Linked DNA regions of Homo sapiens: region 1 is linked to region 2. The links are contacts of gene promoters, found by promoter capture Hi-C in human tissues and cell types (Jung and others, 2019). All regions are on one chromosome and are shown on one strand. Each heading gives the region's core, a stretch centred on a gene start or on the middle of the fragment in contact. The rest is flanking DNA. Distances are from core to core; before and after follow the strand shown.

The links. The method cuts DNA at HindIII sites, captures the fragments that hold promoters and counts their contacts. A contact is called where the count stands out against the background at its distance.
Region 1: a contact is called between a fragment that was not itself captured here and the fragment with the promoter of NKX2-1 in region 2, in 4 of the 25 tissues and cell types used here (H1 embryonic stem cells, hippocampus, neural progenitor cells and 1 more).

Annotation. Positions count from the first base shown.
Region 1 is chr14:36,441,987-36,444,686 of GRCh38, reverse strand. No RefSeq gene overlaps it. Among named protein-coding and RNA genes, the nearest start is that of NKX2-1-AS1, 76 kb to the left of the region's middle. RefSeq lists an enhancer at 1-2,700. The HindIII fragment of the contact is 5,707 bases long and covers 1-2,700 here.
Region 2 is chr14:36,518,889-36,521,588 of GRCh38, reverse strand. It overlaps NKX2-1 (NK2 homeobox 1), which reads left to right and starts at 1,357. Exons shown (of 3, transcript NM_001079668.3): 1 at 1,357-1,536; 2 at 2,219-2,604. The coding sequence starts at 1,460. SFTA3 (surfactant associated 3) reads left to right here and starts at 2,033. Exons shown (of 5, transcript NR_161365.1): 1 at 2,033-2,121. It overlaps NKX2-1-AS1 (NKX2-1 antisense RNA 1), which reads right to left and starts at 2,311. Exons shown (of 2, transcript NR_103710.1): 1 at 1,910-2,311. RefSeq lists enhancers at 1-941, 942-1,941. The HindIII fragment of the contact is 7,239 bases long and covers 1-2,700 here.

The DNA.
Region 1 (2,700 bases), core at 79-2,578, 77 kb after region 2:
TGAACCACTGTGCCAGGCCTGATTTTTTTTCTTTGGAGTGGATTTCTAGAGAAGTACCAAAGCTTCAGGAAGACCCACAGGAGTAAAAATCGTAAAAGAAAAATAATAAAGACCAGAGTCCAAGTTAACTTTCACTGATTGGCTCCATTTTGAAACCCTTGGCAATCAGCATCATTATAAAATCCAATTCAGGTTGAGCATCCTTAATCTGAAAATCCAAAACCCAAAATGCTCCAAAATTTAAAACTTTTTGAGTACTCACATGACGCCACAGTGGAAAAGTCTTAACACTTTAAAAAAAGTCTTAATAGCACTTAACACAAACATTGTTCTATGCACAAAATTAGTATCGTATTGTCTAAAATTACCTTCAGGCTATGTCTATAAGGTGTATATGAAACGTAAATAAATTTAATGTTGAGACCTGAGTCTCATCCCAAGAGACCTCATTATGTATATGCAAATAGTCCAAAATCCAAAAATATCCAAAACATGTCTAGTCCCAAGGATATTCAACCTGTATAGTACAAAAGCTATGTTAAAGAAAGATATTAAATCTATAATACCTTGGGTAGTATGTTTATATCAAAAGTGTGTTTATTTGATAAATTTAGATGTAATCCCTGGGTGTTAGCTACTTTGCAATTTATCAGGAAAAGGCTCCACTCTATAACCATGTCAGATTTGAAGCACAGGAAAAGACGGGCTCAGGCTTAGGAAGGAGGTAACTGAAGCAGAGAAAGGGAATCTTTTACTGCCTACACCCCTTTGTTATTTGTGAGCTTCCAAGGGCTCTGGGAAGGTCGTGGGGAAGCAAGGGGCCTAGAGATGGGGGACTTCGTGCTGGAAAATGGGCTGCTTGCTGGGTGGGAAGTGGGGGTGCCTGATCCTGGCGTGGGAGGTCGGGCGTGGGGGGACTTGAATGAATGCCTGGGGGTTGGACTGGGAGAATAAAGCCATGAAGGGACTGTTCTCATTAAAGAATCCATTTCCCATTTTCAGCAGTTTGCTACATTAACAAGCTGAGCCATGAAAGGATTAGATCCGCTAAGTGAGTGCCTGTTCTGTGCACCATTGCAAAACACATTTCAGAAAGCAGTGGATTCGCCTTAAATGAGTATCTGCTGGAGGAGCAAAGCCCTAGGAAAACAAAGGGGCACGCCAGGGTAAGCTAATAATTCCTGCTGTGCTTTGAGGGCAATGAAATGACTGCAACCCTGAGAACTTTTTCTCCCTCCCCTGCAGTTGGTATAAACATAAGAGCCATTTTGATGATCATATCGACACCTCAGCAACAAGTGCTTCCCAGGTGCCAACAAAATGTCACTTTCCAAAGGGTTAAATGAACCAAAAGACCTCACCCTCAAATATTCTTTTTCTGCATCCATTTAGCATGCATACCTATTAAGCAAAACAATGGGCATAGATTCATATCCTGTCTACAAATAATCGAATGATACAAGAACAAATCTACCACCAGCTGCTTTGTCCCATGCTATGCTTTGACTGGGAGGGGAAAGCCAAGTTTTGAGCTGGGTCTAGCCTGACTCAGGCCTTAACTTGTGAGTCCTGCTATTCTAACCCTTTCTCTTGATCTGCTTTTCAGCCTGTCTCAGAGCACACAGCTCAGAGCAGCAGGGAAGTTGCTTAGCAAAGGGCCACCCACTTGCCTATTATTCCTTCCTCGCCTGTGACATGACACAAGAACAAAGTAGACATTAACCGCTACATTAAACCCAGAAAGAAAGTAATCAGTAACCTGTTATTCCCTTAATAAAGGGAAACACATGCAGTGTGAAATCCAGAAGACTAATCAATAGCCGCAGACAATGCAATGTGCCAAACAAATTGCAAATCAATTAGAATCCTTGTTTTCTTTGAAATGGTTCACTATATCTAAAGCAATTACTCCTTCATTAGACCTAATTTAACAGCATGACTACCCTGGCTACAACTGGCAGCGTCTGGCTATCAAATGGAAGAATGGCAGCTTATTTCTGTCTGTCTGTGAGTCTAGCACCAATCAAGAAAAAAAATGAATTCCTTTATATGAGAGAAACTTTTAATGAATGGGTGGATATTTGTTTTAATCCAAATATCGGTACCAGAATGAGAGTTCCCTGCTCCCCCCAGGGAAGTTAAAAGAGAAAAGAACTAAAGAATTATTGAATAAAAATCTGTACTTTAAAAATGTATTTTTTTCTTCTTTCTATGGGAGTTTCAACTAGATTAAAATGGAATTTAAGTATGTAAAGTCCTTCCAGCTCTTCAAATCTAACACAGCACTTGTTACTAGTTTTTGGACTTTTGAAAAGAGAATCCTGGTTCTTATTGAATTTGGAGTATTCTTGCAAATGATCACCAAAAAAAAAGCACTAGTTCACTTATTACTAAAGCTATTTAAAAATAGTTTTATTGAGCAATGTATAATACAATCCACTCATTTTAATTGTAAATGTAGTAAATTTTGGCAAATGTATACAATCATGTAACCACCACCTTAATTGTGATGTGGAATCTTTCTGTCACCCCAGTAAATTCCCGTGCGCCCCTTTGCAGTCAATCCCCTCCCCCAGCCCTGGAGGCAACCGCGGATCTGCTTTCTGTCAGTCCATTGCACTTTTAAGAACAGTTTCCCATCCTCTGGAAGTATAGGACTAGAAAAAATAATTGAAATAAGGTTTTTCTACCAGTTTGAGA
Region 2 (2,700 bases), core at 108-2,607:
GTATTGAGGGAGTAAGAGCTCTCTTCAAGGAGAGGGCTGAAATCTTTAAAAATAAATAAAACTTTCTCTACTGTAATTGCTATTAATAAAAAAAGGGAGCCCGGATGAATTAAGTAGCTCAAAACTGCCTGTTCGTCATGATCAGGAGCTCCTTCTCTACAAGGAGGGGAAAGAAAATGTGAAAACAAAAACTAAATTCAAGAAGCTCCTTGACCAGCGCGGGTGTCTTGGAGGCACCTGCCGGGGCCGGCCGGGGAGCGCTCCGCCCTCCCAGCCCCTGGCGCGCAGAGGAGACTAAAACAGCTAAGGAGAAAGCAAAACAAAAACAATGATAAAAACGTTTAAAATCCAAGGACAAAAACCGGAGTCGGTCTCAAAATCCGCGCCGTTCAGTGCTCCACTCGGTAGTCGACTCGGCTGCAGGCCCCGGCCTGGCCGGAGCAACGCGGGGGACACCCCCGATTCCGCTGGGGAGCGCAGCCCACAGCTCCCCCTCGCCAGGCGCCCAAGGACCCTCAAGGCGCGGGGCCCACACTTGAAGCCTGGGAACGCGCAGACAGGAAACCCTCTTCCTCCTAAGCAGTTTCTTGCTCGTCGGATGAGAGGCGCCCAATTGAAGCAGAATGATCCTCATCTACTAATATCCAGCGTGGCCACAAAGCGACTGGCCATTTACGCCACCACTTTAAACAAAGATATTTGGTTATTCCCGGGAAGCAAGAGCACTTTTGCATGGCTGAGCTGCGGGCGGAGGCGAGCCTCGGCCCAGCCTCCCGCCCGCTGAGCTGCCCGCACCTCGGCATTCGCCCCCTCCTGGCCAGCGCTCCAGCCGCCGGGGTTCAGGCTCAGTTCCGCCCGGCAACAGACAGACGGGCACTCACGCCGCTCCCTGCTCGCGCGCTCCCTGAAGCATCAGAGGGGAAAACAGCGTGGCTCTGGGCTCGGGTGCTGGGGCTGTGATGTCCTCGGAAAGTCAGCTCCAGCCCCAGATCCCCGCGTGTCTGGGAGATGGGCGAGGGTCAGGGACACCAGGTTTGTTCGAGGTGGGGCAACTTCAGTGACGGACCCTCCCGTGAGACCCCTTCCCATCCTCCCAGCTCTGGGGGCCAGTGCTGTGTTTGCTCGGCCGGGGGTGGGGGGGGGGGGGGAAGACCTTGGGGGAGGCGTGTTAGCGGGGGTGGCCCACTGAAAAACCCCTGAGCTGCGGGGGCGGGTTGTGGCTCGGGGATCCGGGACAGCCTCCGGGAGGCAGTCGATCCCCTACTCAGCGCCCCCTCCGCCCGCTCGGATTCTCTCCGGTAGGGGGAAAGGGGGCGGGGAGCAGAGGTGTCCCTCTGACGGCGGCAGAAGAGAGGCAGACAGACTGACAGACACGTAGACCAACAGTGCGGCCCCAGGGTTCGTCCCCAGACTCGCTCGCTCATTTGTTGGCGACTGGGGCTCAGCGCAGCGAAGCCCGATGTGGTCCGGAGGCAGTGGGAAGGCGCGGGGCTGGGAGGCCGCGGCGGGAGGGAGGAGCAGCCCCGGCAGGCTCAGGTGAAACCCCCACCCTGTCCCTCAGCCCCCTCCTCCTAAAGACCTGTCCGTGCCCGGGGAACCCCGACCGAATTGGAAAGTGGTTCCACTTTGTAACTCCGCAAGTTGGTTGCAAAGCAGCATTCACCTTCCTTCCTCTCAACCATCTCTCCTCCTCTGTTACTCCCCCACCCCACCTCCTGCCCTCCCCGCTCTCGGTTCCCTCCTCCTTCCCCTCCCCTCCACCTCCTCCCCGCGCTCCGCTGGTACCCCACAAAAAATGGGGGTGGGGGTGTCCAAGGGAGGGGGGAAATGCTTTGGGTCTCGTCTCTGCCTCTCTCTCTCTCTCTTTGAGACCTAAAAATCCTGACAAGTGAAACTTAAAGGTGTTTACCTTGTCATCAGCATGTAAGCTAATTATCTCGGGCAAGATGTAGGCTTCTATTGTCTTGTTGCTTTAGCGCTTACGCCCCGCCTCTGGTGGCTGCCTAAAACCTGGCGCCGGGCTAAAACAAACGCGAGGCAGCCCCCGAGCCTCCACTCAAGCCAATTAAGGAGGACTCGGTCCACTCCGTTACGTGTACATCCAACAAGATCGGCGTTAAGGTAACACCAGAATATTTGGCAAAGGGAGAAAAAAAAAGCAGCGAGGCTTCGCCTTCCCCCTCTCCCTTTTTTTTCCTCCTCTTCCTTCCTCCTCCAGCCGCCGCCGAATCATGTCGATGAGTCCAAAGCACACGACTCCGTTCTCAGTGTCTGACATCTTGAGTCCCCTGGAGGAAAGCTACAAGAAAGTGGGCATGGAGGGCGGCGGCCTCGGGGCTCCGCTGGCGGCGTACAGGCAGGGCCAGGCGGCACCGCCAACAGCGGCCATGCAGCAGCACGCCGTGGGGCACCACGGCGCCGTCACCGCCGCCTACCACATGACGGCGGCGGGGGTGCCCCAGCTCTCGCACTCCGCCGTGGGGGGCTACTGCAACGGCAACCTGGGCAACATGAGCGAGCTGCCGCCGTACCAGGACACCATGAGGAACAGCGCCTCTGGCCCCGGATGGTACGGCGCCAACCCAGACCCGCGCTTCCCCGCCAGTAAGTGAGGCCGCCCCACTGCGGGGCCGCGGGCTGAGCTCAGGAGGTGCGGCGAGAGCCGTCCAGAAGGCGCGGCGCCGGCAGGCTGCGCGCTGG